Linked DNA regions of Homo sapiens: region 2 is linked to region 1. The links are contacts of gene promoters, found by promoter capture Hi-C in human tissues and cell types (Jung and others, 2019). All regions are on one chromosome and are shown on one strand. The core of a region is centred on a gene start or on the middle of the fragment in contact, and the rest is flanking DNA. Distances in the headings are between cores, read along the strand shown.

Region 1 (6,189 bases), core at 3,690-6,189:
GGGCTAGGGAGCTTAACCTTGCTCGATAAAGCTGTGTTCCTAGAATGTCGCTCCTGTTCCCAGGGGCACCAGCCTGGAGGGTGGTGAGCCTCACTGGTGGCCTGATGCTTACCTTGTGCCCTCACACCAGTGGTCACTGGAACCTTGAACACTTGGCTGTCGCCCGGATCTGCAGATGTCAAGAACTTCTGGAAGTCAAATTACTGCCCACTTCTCCAGGGCAGATACCTGTGAACATCCAAAACCATGCCACAGAACCCTGCCTGGGGTCTACAACACATATGGACTGTGAGCACCAAGTCCAGCCCTGAATCTGTGACCACCTGCCAAGATGCCCCTAACTGGGATCCACCAATCACTGCACATGGCAGGCAGCGAGGCTTGGAGGTGCTTCGCCACAAGGCAGCCCCAATTTGCTGGGAGTTTCTTGGCACCTGGTAGTGGTGAGGAGCCTTGGGACCCTCAGGATTACTCCCCTTAAGCATAGTGGGGACCCTTCTGCATCCCCAGCAGGTGCCCCGCTCTTCAGAGCCTCTCTCTCTGAGGTTTACCCAGACCCCTGCACCAATGAGACCATGCTGAAGCCTCAGAGAGAGAGATGGAGCTTTGACCAGGAGCCGCTCTTCCTTGAGGGCCAGGGCAGGGAAAGCAGGAGGCAGCACCAGGAGTGGGAACACCAGTGTCTAAGCCCCTGATGAGAACAGGGTGGTCTCTCCCATATGCCCATACCAGGCCTGTGAACAGAATCCTCCTTCTGCAGTGACAATGTCTGAGAGGACGACATGTTTCCCAGCCTAACGTGCAGCCATGCCCATCTACCCACTGCCTACTGCAGGACAGCACCAACCCAGGAGCTGGGAAGCTGGGAGAAGACATGGAATACCCATGGCTTCTCACCTTCCTCCAGTCCAGTGGGCACCATTTATGCCTAGGACACCCACCTGCCGGCCCCAGGCTCTTAAGAGTTAGGTCACCTAGGTGCCTCTGGGAGGCCGAGGCAGGAGAATTGCTTGAACCCGGGAGGCAGAGGTTGCAGTGAGCCGAGATCACACCACTGCACTCCAGCCTGGGTGACAGAATGAGACTCTGTCTCAAAAAAAAAGAGAAAGATAGCATCAGTGGCTACCAAGGGCTAGGGGCAGGGGAAGGTGGAGAGTTAATGATTAATAGTATGAAGTTTCTATGTGAGATGATGAAAATGTTCTGGAAAAAAAAATATAGTGGTGAGGATGTAGAATATTGTGAATATAATTAACGGCATTTAATTGTACACTTAACATGATTAATGTGGCATATTTTATCTTATGTATTTGACTACATCCAAGAAACACTGGGAGAGGGAAAGCCCACCATGTAAAATACACCCACCCTAATCAGATAGTCCTCATTGTACCCAGGTACAGGCCCCTCATGACCTGCACAGGAATAACTAAGGATTTAAGGACATGAGGCTTCCCAGCCAACTGCAGGTGCACAACATAAATGTATCTGCAAACAGACTGAGAGTAAAGCTGGGGGCACAAACCTCAGCACTGCCAGGACACACACCCTTCTCGTGGATTCTGACTTTATCTGACCCGGCCCACTGTCCAGATCTTGTTGTGGGATTGGGACAAGGGAGGTCATAAAGCCTGTCCCCAGGGCACTCTGTGTGAGCACACGAGACCTCCCCACCCCCCCACCGTTAGGTCTCCACACATAGATCTGACCATTAGGCATTGTGAGGAGGACTCTAGCGCGGGCTCAGGGATCACACCAGAGAATCAGGTACAGAGAGGAAGACGGGGCTCGAGGAGCTGATGGATGACACAGAGCAGGGTTCCTGCAGTCCACAGGTCCAGCTCACCCTGGTGTAGGTGCCCCATCCCCCTGATCCAGGCATCCCTGACACAGCTCCCTCCCGGAGCCTCCTCCCAGGTGACACATCAGGGTCCCTCACTCAAGCTGTCCAGAGAGGGCAGCACCTTGGACAGCGCCCACCCCACTTCACTCTTCCTCCCTCACAGGGCTCAGGGCTCAGGGCTCAAGTCTCAGAACAAATGGCAGAGGCCAGTGAGCCCAGAGATGGTGACAGGGCAATGATCCAGGGGCAGCTGCCTGAAACGGGAGCAGGTGAAGCCACAGATGGGAGAAGATGGTTCAGGAAGAAAAATCCAGGAATGGGCAGGAGAGGAGAGGAGGACACAGGCTCTGTGGGGCTGCAGCCCAGGATGGGACTAAGTGTGAAGACATCTCAGCAGGTGAGGCCAGGTCCCATGAACAGAGAAGCAGCTCCCACCTCCCCTGATGCACGGACACACAGAGTGTGTGGTGCTGTGCCCCCAGAGTCGGGCTCTCCTGTTCTGGTCCCCAGGGAGTGAGAAGTGAGGTTGACTTGTCCCTGCTCCTCTCTGCTACCCCAACATTCACCTTCTCCTCATGCCCCTCTCTCTCAAATATGATTTGGATCTATGTCCCCGCCCAAATCTCATGTCAAATTGTAAACCCCAATGTTGGAGGTGGGGCCTTGTGAGAAGTGATTGGATAATGCGGGTGGATTTTCTGCTTTGATGCTGTTTCTGTGATAGAGATCTCACATGATCTGGTTGTTTAAAAGTGTGTAGCACCTCTCCCCTCTCTCTCTCTCTCTCTTACTCATGCTCTGCCATGTAAGACGTTCCTGTTTCCCCTTCACCGTCCAGAATGATTGTAAGTTTTCTGAGGCCTCCCCAGGAGCAGAAGCCACTATGCTTCCTGTACAACTGCAGAATGATGAGCGAATTAAACCTCTTTTCTTTATAAATTACCCAGTCTCAGGTATTTCTTTATAGCAATGCGAGGACAGACTAATACAATCTTCTACTCCCAGATCCCCGCACACGCTTAGCCCCAGACATCACTGCCCCTGGGAGCATGCACAGCGCAGCCTCCTGCCGACAAAAGCAAAGTCACAAAAGGTGACAAAAATCTGCATTTGGGGACATCTGATTGTGAAAGAGGGAGGACAGTACACTTGTAGCCACAGAGACTGGGGCTCACCGAGCTGAAACCTGGTAGCACTTTGGCATAACATGTGCATGACCCGTGTTCAATGTCTAGAGATCAGTGTTGAGTAAAACAGCCTGGTCTGGGGCCGCTGCTGTCCCCACTTCCCTCCTGTCCACCAGAGGGCGGCAGAGTTCCTCCCACCCTGGAGCCTCCCCAGGGGCTGCTGACCTCCCTCAGCCGGGCCCACAGCCCAGCAGGGTCCACCCTCACCCGGGTCACCTCGGCCCACGTCCTCCTCGCCCTCCGAGCTCCTCACACGGACTCTGTCAGCTCCTCCCTGCAGCCTATCGGCCGCCCACCTGAGGCTTGTCGGCCGCCCACTTGAGGCCTGTCGGCTGCCCTCTGCAGGCAGCTCCTGTCCCCTACACCCCCTCCTTCCCCGGGCTCAGCTGAAAGGGCGTCTCCCAGGGCAGCTCCCTGTGATCTCCAGGACAGCTCAGTCTCTCACAGGCTCCGACGCCCCCTATGCTGTCACCTCACAGCCCTGTCATTACCATTAACTCCTCAGTCCCATGAAGTTCACTGAGCGCCTGTCTCCCGGTTACAGGAAAACTCTGTGACAGGGACCACGTCTGTCCTGCTCTCTGTGGAATCCCAGGGCCCAGCCCAGTGCCTGACACGGAACAGATGCTCCATAAATACTGGTTAAATGTGTGGGAGATCTCTAAAAAGAAGCATATCACCTCCGTGTGGCCCCCAGCAGTCAGAGTCTGTTCCATGTGGACACAGGGGCACTGGCACCAGCATGGGAGGAGGCCAGCAAGTGCCCGCGGCTGCCCCAGGAATGAGGCCTCAACCCCCAGAGCTTCAGAAGGGAGGACAGAGGCCTGCAGGGAATAGATCCTCCGGCCTGACCCTGCAGCCTAATCCAGAGTTCAGGGTCAGCTCACACCACGTCGACCCTGGTCAGCATCCCTAGGGCAGTTCCAGACAAGGCCGGAGGTCTCCTCTTGCCCTCCAGGGGGTGACATTGCACACAGACATCACTCAGGAAACGGATTCCCCTGGACAGGAACCTGGCTTTGCTAAGGAAGTGGAGGTGGAGCCTGGTTTCCATCCCTTGCTCCAACAGACCCTTCTGATCTCTCCCACATACCTGCTCTGTTCCTTTCTGGGTCCTATGAGGACCCTGTTCTGCCAGGGGTCCCTGTGCAACTCCAGACTCCCTCCTGGTACCACCATGGGGAAGGTGGGGTGATCACAGGACAGTCAGCCTCGCAGAGGACAGAGACCACCCAGGACTGTCAGGGAGAACATGGACAGGCCCTGAGCCGCAGCTCAGCCAACAGACACGGAGAGGGAGGGTCCCCCTGGAGCCTTCCCCAAGGACAGCAGAGCCCAGAGTCACCCACCTCCCTCCACCACAGTCCTCTCTTTCCAGGACACACAAGACACCTCCCCCTCCACATGCAGGATCTGGGGACTCCTGAGACCTCTGGGCCTGGGTCTCCATCCCTGGGTCAGTGGCGGGGTTGGTGGTACTGGAGACAGAGGGCTGGTCCCTCCCCAGCCACCACCCAGTGAGCCTTTTTCTAGCCCCCAGAGCCACCTCTGTCACCTTCCTGTTGGGCATCATCCCACCTTCCCAGAGCCCTGGAGAGCATGGGGAGACCCGGGACCCTGCTGGGTTTCTCTGTCACAAAGGAAAATAATCCCCCTGGTGTGACAGACCCAAGGACAGAACACAGCAGAGGTCAGCACTGGGGAAGACAGGTTGTCCTCCCAGGGGATGGGGGTCCATCCACCTTGCCGAAAAGATTTGTCTGAGGAACTGAAAATAGAAGGGAAAAAAGAGGAGGGACAAAAGAGGCAGAAATGAGAGGGGAGGGGACAGAGGACACCTGAATAAAGACCACACCCATGACCCACGTGATGCTGAGAAGTACTCCTGCCCTAGGAAGAGACTCAGGGCAGAGGGAGGAAGGACAGCAGACCAGACAGTCACAGCAGCCTTGACAAAACGTTCCTGGAACTCAAGCTCTTCTCCACAGAGGAGGACAGAGCAGACAGCAGAGACCATGGAGTCTCCCTCGGCCCCTCCCCACAGATGGTGCATCCCCTGGCAGAGGCTCCTGCTCACAGGTGAAGGGAGGACAACCTGGGAGAGGGTGGGAGGAGGGAGCTGGGGTCTCCTGGGTAGGACAGGGCTGTGAGACGGACAGAGGGCTCCTGTTGGAGCCTGAATAGGGAAGAGGACATCAGAGAGGGACAGGAGTCACACCAGAAAAATCAAATTGAACTGGAATTGGAAAGGGGCAGGAAAACCTCAAGAGTTCTATTTTCCTAGTTAATTGTCACTGGCCACTACGTTTTTAAAAATCATAATAACTGCATCAGATGACACTTTAAATAAAAACATAACCAGGGCATGAAACACTGTCCTCATCCGCCTACCGCGGACATTGGAAAATAAGCCCCAGGCTGTGGAGGGCCCTGGGAACCCTCATGAACTCATCCACAGGAATCTGCAGCCTGTCCCAGGCACTGGGGTGCAACCAAGATCACACAAATCCCTGCCCTCATGAAGCTCATGCTCTCATGGGGAGGAAGACAGACATACAAAGAGATCTAGAATGTGAGGTCAGGTGTTGACAAGAGCCCTGGAGGGAATAGAGCAGGGAAAGGTCAGAAAAGGAAGACCCAGGGTCTCTAGAGGAGGTGTCAGGGAAGGGATCTCCCAAGAATGCCCTGATGTGAGCAGGACCTGAAGGCAATGGGGAGGGAGCCGTGAAGACCCCTGGAAAAGCAGATTCCACACAGGGAAATGCCAAGGTCAGAGGTGCTAAGGAAATAGGAGACACACTGCTGACCTTGACCTAGTAGGACACACACACACACACACACACACACACACTCACTCACTCCAGGGCTGGGGGATGAAGAGACCTGCTCAGGACCCAGGACCCCATTTTTCCACCCTAATGCATAGGTCCCAATATTGACCGATGCTCTCTGCTCTCTCCTAGCCTCACTTCTAACCTTCTGGAACCCGCCCACCACTGCCAAGCTCACTATTGAATCCACGCCGTTCAATGTCGCAGAGGGGAAGGAGGTGCTTCTACTTGTCCACAATCTGCCCCAGCATCTTTTTGGCTACAGCTGGTACAAAGGTGAAAGAGTGGATGGCAACCGTCAAATTATAGGATATGTAATAGGAACTCA
Region 2 (6,189 bases), core at 2,502-5,001, 47 kb before region 1:
AGACCAAAGGTAGATAAATCCGCAAAGATGAGGATAAACCAGCACAAAAAGGCTAAAAATTCCAAAAATCAGAATACCTCTTCTCCTCCAAAGGATCACAACAAGGGAACAAAACTGGACAGAGAACGAGTTTGACAAATTGACAGAAGTAGACTTCAGAAGGTGAGTAATAACAAACTCCTCTAAGCTAAAGGAGCATGTTCTAACTCAATGCAAGGAAGCAAAGACTCTTGATAAAAGGTTACAGGAACTGCTAACTTGAATAACCAGTTTAGAGAAGAACATGAATAATCTGATGGAGCTGAAAAACACAGCATGAGAACTTCATGAAACGTATACAAGTATCAATAGCTGAATCGATCAAGTGGAAGAAAGGATATTAGAGATTGAAGATGAACTTAATGAAATAAAGTGTGAATACAAGATTAGAGAAAAAAGAATGAAAGGAATCAACAAAGCCTCCAAGAAATATGGGACTATGTGAAAAGACCAAACCTATGTTTGATTGGTGTACCTTAATGTGATAGGGGAGAATGGGACCAAGTTGGAAAACACACTTCAGGATATTATCCAGGAGAACTTCCCCAACCTAGCAAGACAGACCAACATTGAAATTCAGGAAATACAGAGAACACCACTAAGATACTCCTTGAGAAGAGCAACCCCAAGACACATAACTGTCAGATTCACCAAGGTTGAAATGAAAGAAAAAATGTTAAGGGCAGCCAGAGAGAAAGGTCGGGTTACCCACAAAGGGAAGCCCATTAGACTAACAGTAAATCTATCTGCAGAAACCCTACAAGCCAGAAGAGAGTGGGGGCTAATATTCAACATTCTTAAAGAAAAGAATTTTCAACCCAGAATTTCATATCTGACCAAACTAAGCTTCATAAGTGAAGGAGAAATAAAATCCTCTACAGAGAAGCAAATGCTGAGGGATTTTGTCACCACCAGGACTGCCTTACAGGAGCTCCTGAAGGAAACACTAAATATGGAAAGGAAAAACCAGTACTACCCACGGCAAAAACAAACCAAAATGTAAATACCATTGACACAATGAAGAAATTGCCTCAACTAATGGGCAAAATAACCAGCTAACATCATATGACATGCTCAAATTCACACATAACAATATTAACCTTAAATGTAAATGGGGTGAATGCCCCAATTAAAAGACATAGATTGCAAATTGGATAAAAAGTCAAGAACCATTGGTGTGCTGTATTCAGGAGGCCCATCTCACGTGCAAAGACACACATAGGCTCAAAATAAAGGGATGGAGAAAGATTTACCAAGCAAATGGAAAGCAAAGAAAAGCAGGGGTTGCAATCCTAGTCTCTGATAAAACAGACTTTAAGCCAGCAAGGATCAAAAAAGGCAAAAAAAGGCATTACATAATGGTAAAGGGATCAATTCAACAGGAAGAGCTAACTATCCCAAATATATATGCACCCAATACAGGAGCACCCAGATTCATAAAACAAGTTCTTAGATAACTAAGAAGAGATTTAGACTCCCACACAGTAATGGTGGAAGACTTTAACATCCCACTGTCAGTATTAGACAGATCAAAGAGACAGAAAATTAACAAGGATATTTAGGACTTGAATTCAGCTCTGGACCAAGCAGACCTAATAGACATCTACAGAACTCTCCACCCCAAATCAACAGAATATACATTCTTCTCAGCACCACATAGCACTTATTCTAAAATTGACCACATAATTAGAAGTAAAACACTCCTCAGCAAATACAAGAGAACGGAAATCATATCAAACAGTCTCTCAGACCACAGTGCAATCAAATTAGAACTCAGGATTAAGAAACTCACTCAAAACCGCACAACTACATGGAAACTGAACAATCTGCTCCTGAGTGACTACTGGGTAAATAACAAAATTAAGGCAGAAATAAATAAGTTCTTTGAAACCAATGAGAACAAAGACACAAGGTACCAGAATCTCTGGGATACAGATAAAGCAGTGTTTAGAGGGAAATTGTAGCACTAAATGCCCACATGAGAAAGTGGGAAAGATCTAAAATTGACACCCTAACATCACAATTAAAAGAACTAGAGAAGCAAGAGCAAACACATTCAAAAGCTAGTGGAAGACAAGAAATAACTAAGACCAGAGCAGAACTGAAGGAGATAGAGACATGAAAAACCCTTCAAAAAATCAATGAATCCAGGAGCTGGTTTTTTAAAAAGATTAACAAAATAGATAGACCACTATCCAGACTAATAAAGAAGAAAAGAGAGAAGAATCAAACAAACACAATAAAAAATGATAAAGGGGATATCGCCACTGATCCCACAGAAATACAAACTACCATCAGAGAATACTATAAACACCTCTATGCAAATACAGTAGAAAATCTGGAAGAAATAGATAAATTCCTGGACACATACACCCTCCCAAGACTAAATCATGAAGAAGTCAAATCCCTGAATAGACCAATAACAAGTTCTGAAATTGAGGCAGTAATTAATAGCCTACCAACCAAAAAAAAAAATAGACCAATAACAAGTTCTGAAATTGAGACAGGCAGTAATAGCCTACCAACCAACAAAAGCCCAGCACCAGATGGATTCACAGCCAAATTCTACCAAAGGTACAAAGACGAGCTGGTACCATTCCTTCTGAAACTATTACAAACACTAGAAAAAGAGGGACACCTCTCTAACTCATTTTATGAGGCCAGCATCATCCTGATACAAAAACCTCGCAGAGACACAACAAGAAAATAATATTTCAGGCCAATATCCCTGATAAACATTGATGCAAAAATCCTCAATAAAATACTGGCAAACTGAATCCAGCAGCACATAAAAAGAGCTTATCCACCATGATCAAGTCAGATTCACCCCTGGGATGCAAGGCTGTTTCAACATATGCAAATCAATAAACGTAATCCATCACATAAACAGAACCAGTGAGAAAAAACACATGATTATCTCAATAGATGCGGAAAAGGCCTTTGATAAAATTCAACACAACTTCATGCTAAAAACACTCCATAAACTAGGTACTGATGGAACATATCTCAAAATAATAAGAGCTGTTTATGACAAACTCACAGCCAGTATCATAATGAATGGGCAAAAGCTGGAAACACTCCCTTTGAAAACCGTCAGAAGACAAGGATGCCCTCTGTCACCACTCCTATTCAACATAGTATTGGAAATTCTGGTCAGGGAAATCAGCAAGAGAAAGAAAAAAGGGGTATTTATATAAGAAGAGAGGAAGTCAAATTGTCTCTGTTTGCAGATGACATGAATTGTATATTTAGAAAATCCCATTGTCTAATCCCCAAAACTCCTTGATAAACAACTTCAGCAAAGTCTCAGGATACAAAATCCATGTGCAAAAATCACAAGCACATCTATACACCAATAATAGACAAACAGAGCCAAATCATAAGTGAATTCCCCTTCACAATTGCTACAAAGAGAATAAAATACCTAGGAATACAACTTACAAGGGATGTGAATGACCTCTTCAAGGAGAACTACAATCCACTGCTCAAAGAAATAAGAGATGACACAAACAAATGGAAGAACATTCCATGCTCATGGATAGAGAGAATCAATATCGTGAAAATGGCCATACTGCCCAAAGTAGTGTATAGCTTCAATGCTATTCCCATCAAGCTACCATTGACTTTCTTCACAGAATTAGAAAAAACTACTTTAAATTTCATATGGAAACAAAAAAGATCCCACATAGCCAAGACAATCCTAAGCAAAATGAACAAAGCTGGAGACATCATGCTGCCTGACTTCAAACTATACTACAAGCCTACAGTAACCAAAAGAGCATGGTACTGGTACCAAAACAGATACGTAGACGAATGGAACAGAGCAGAGGCCTCAGAAATAACACTACACATCTACAACCATCTGATCTTTGACATATGCAGGAAACTGAAACTGGACCGCTTCTTTACACTTTATACAAAAATTAACTCAAGACGGATTAAAGACTTGAACATAAGAACTAAAATCACAAAACCCTTAGAAGAAAACCTAGACAATATCATTCAGGACACAGGCATGGGCAAAGACTTCATGACTAAAACACCAAAAGTAATGGCAACAAAAGCCAAAATTGACAAATAGGATCTAATTAAACTAAAAGCTTCTGCACAGCAAAAGAAACTATCAGCAAAATTAACAGGCAACCTACAGAATGGGAGAAAATTTTTACAATCTATCCATCTGACAAAGGGCTAATATCCAGAATCCACAAAGAACTTAAATAAATTTACAAGAAAAAACTAAACAACTTCATCAAAAAGTAGGCAAAGGATATGAACAGACACTTCTCAAAAGAAGACAACATTTATGCGGCCAAAAAACATATGAACAGACACAGAGCCAAACCATCACTGGTCATTAGAGACACGCAAATCAAAACCACAGTAAGATGCTATCTCATGGCAGTTAGAATGGTGATCATTAAAAAGTCAGGAAACAACAGATGCTGAAGAGGATTGGAGAAATAGGAATGTTTTACACTGTTGGTGGGAATGTAAATTAGTTCAGCTATTGTGGAAGACACTGTGGTGATTCCTCACAGATCTAGAACCAGAAATACCATTTGACCCAGCAATCCCATTATTGGGTATATACCCAAAGGATTATAAATCATTTTGCTATAAAGACACATGCATACGTATGTTTATTGCAGCATTATTCACCATAGCAATGACTTGGAACCAACCCAAATGCCCATCAATGATACACTGGATAAAGAAAATGTGGCACATATACACCATGGAATACTATACAACCATAAAAAAGAATGAGTTCATGCCCTTTGCAGGGACATGAAATGAAACCATTATTCTCAGCAAACCAACACAGGAACAGAAAACCAAACACGCTTGTTTTCACTCATAAATGGGAGTTGAACAATGAGAACATATGGGCACAGAGAGGGGAACATCACACACTGGAGCCTGTCAGGGGTGGAGGGCTAGGGGAGGGATAGCATTAGGAGAAATACCTAATGTAGATGACGGGTAGATGGGTGCAGCAAACTACCATGACACATTTATACCTAAGTAACAAACCTTCACGTTCTGCACATGTATCCCAGAACTTAAAGGATAATTTTTTAAAAATAAAGAAAAAGAAAGAGCTTTAATTGGACTCACAGTTTCACGTGGCTGGGGAGAATCATGGCAGAAGTCAAGGAGAAGCAAGTCACATCTTATGTGGATGGCAGCAGGCAAAAAGAGAATGAGAGCCAAGAGAAACAGGTTTCCTGTTATCAAACCATCAGATATCATGAGACTTATTCACTACCACAAGAACAGTATGAAAGAAACCGCCCCCGTGACTCAATTATCTCTCACTGGGTCCCTCCCACAACACATGGGAATTATGGGAGTATGATTCAAGATGAGAATTGGGTAGGGACACAGAGTCAAACCATATTATTCCACCACTGGCTCCTGCCAAATCTCATGTCCTCACATTTCAAAACTAATCATTTCTTCCCAACAGTCCCCCAAAGTCTTAACTCGTTCAGTATTAACTCAAGAGTCCACATTCCAAAGTCTCAACTGAGACAAGGCAAGTCTCTTCCACCTATGAGTCTGTAAAATCAAAAGCAGATTAGCTACTTCCTAGATACAGTGGAGGTACAGGCATTGGGTAAACACAGCCATTCCAAATGGGAGAAATTGGCCAAAACAAAGGGGCTACAGGGCCCATGCAAGTCCAAAATCCAGGGGGGCAGTCGAGTCTTAAAGCTCCAAAATGATCTCCTTTGACTGCATGTCTCACATCCAGGTAATGCTGATGCAAAATACGGGTATCCATGGTCTTGGGCAGCCCTGCCCCTGTGGCAGTTCCACATGGCTGGAGAGGCCTCAGAATCATGGCAGAAGTCAAGGAGAAGCAAGTCACATCTTATGTGGATGGCAGCAGGCAAAAAGAGAATGAGAGCCAAGTGAAACGGGTTTCCCCTTATCAAACCATCAGATCTCATGAGACTTATTCACTACCATGAGAACAGTATGGGAGAAACTGCCCCCCACCAGGTGCCTCCCACAACACGTAGGAATTATGGGAGTACAATTCAGGATGAGATTTGGGTGGGGACACAGAGCCAAACCATATCACCATCAAAATACCACCGTCATTTTTCACAGAACTAGAAAAAACAATCTGAAAATTCA

The links. Contacts are between HindIII fragments. The study calls those that stand out against the background at their distance.
Region 2: a fragment that was not itself captured here is called in contact with the fragment with the promoter of CEACAM5 in region 1 in 1 of the 25 tissues and cell types used here (mesendoderm cells).

Annotation. Positions count from the first base shown.
Region 1 is chr19:41,703,687-41,709,875 of GRCh38, forward strand. CEACAM5 (CEA cell adhesion molecule 5) reads left to right here and starts at 4,940. Exons shown (of 10, transcript NM_004363.6): 1 at 4,940-5,109; 2 at 5,994-6,189. The coding sequence starts at 5,046. RefSeq lists silencers at 3,061-3,180, 3,201-3,250, 3,281-3,330. The HindIII fragment of the contact is 20,290 bases long and covers 1-6,189 here.
Region 2 is chr19:41,658,051-41,664,239 of GRCh38, forward strand. LOC105372405 (a long non-coding RNA gene) reads right to left here and starts at 5,200. Exons shown (of 3, transcript XR_935972.1): 1 at 5,161-5,200. The HindIII fragment of the contact is 7,122 bases long and covers 191-6,189 here.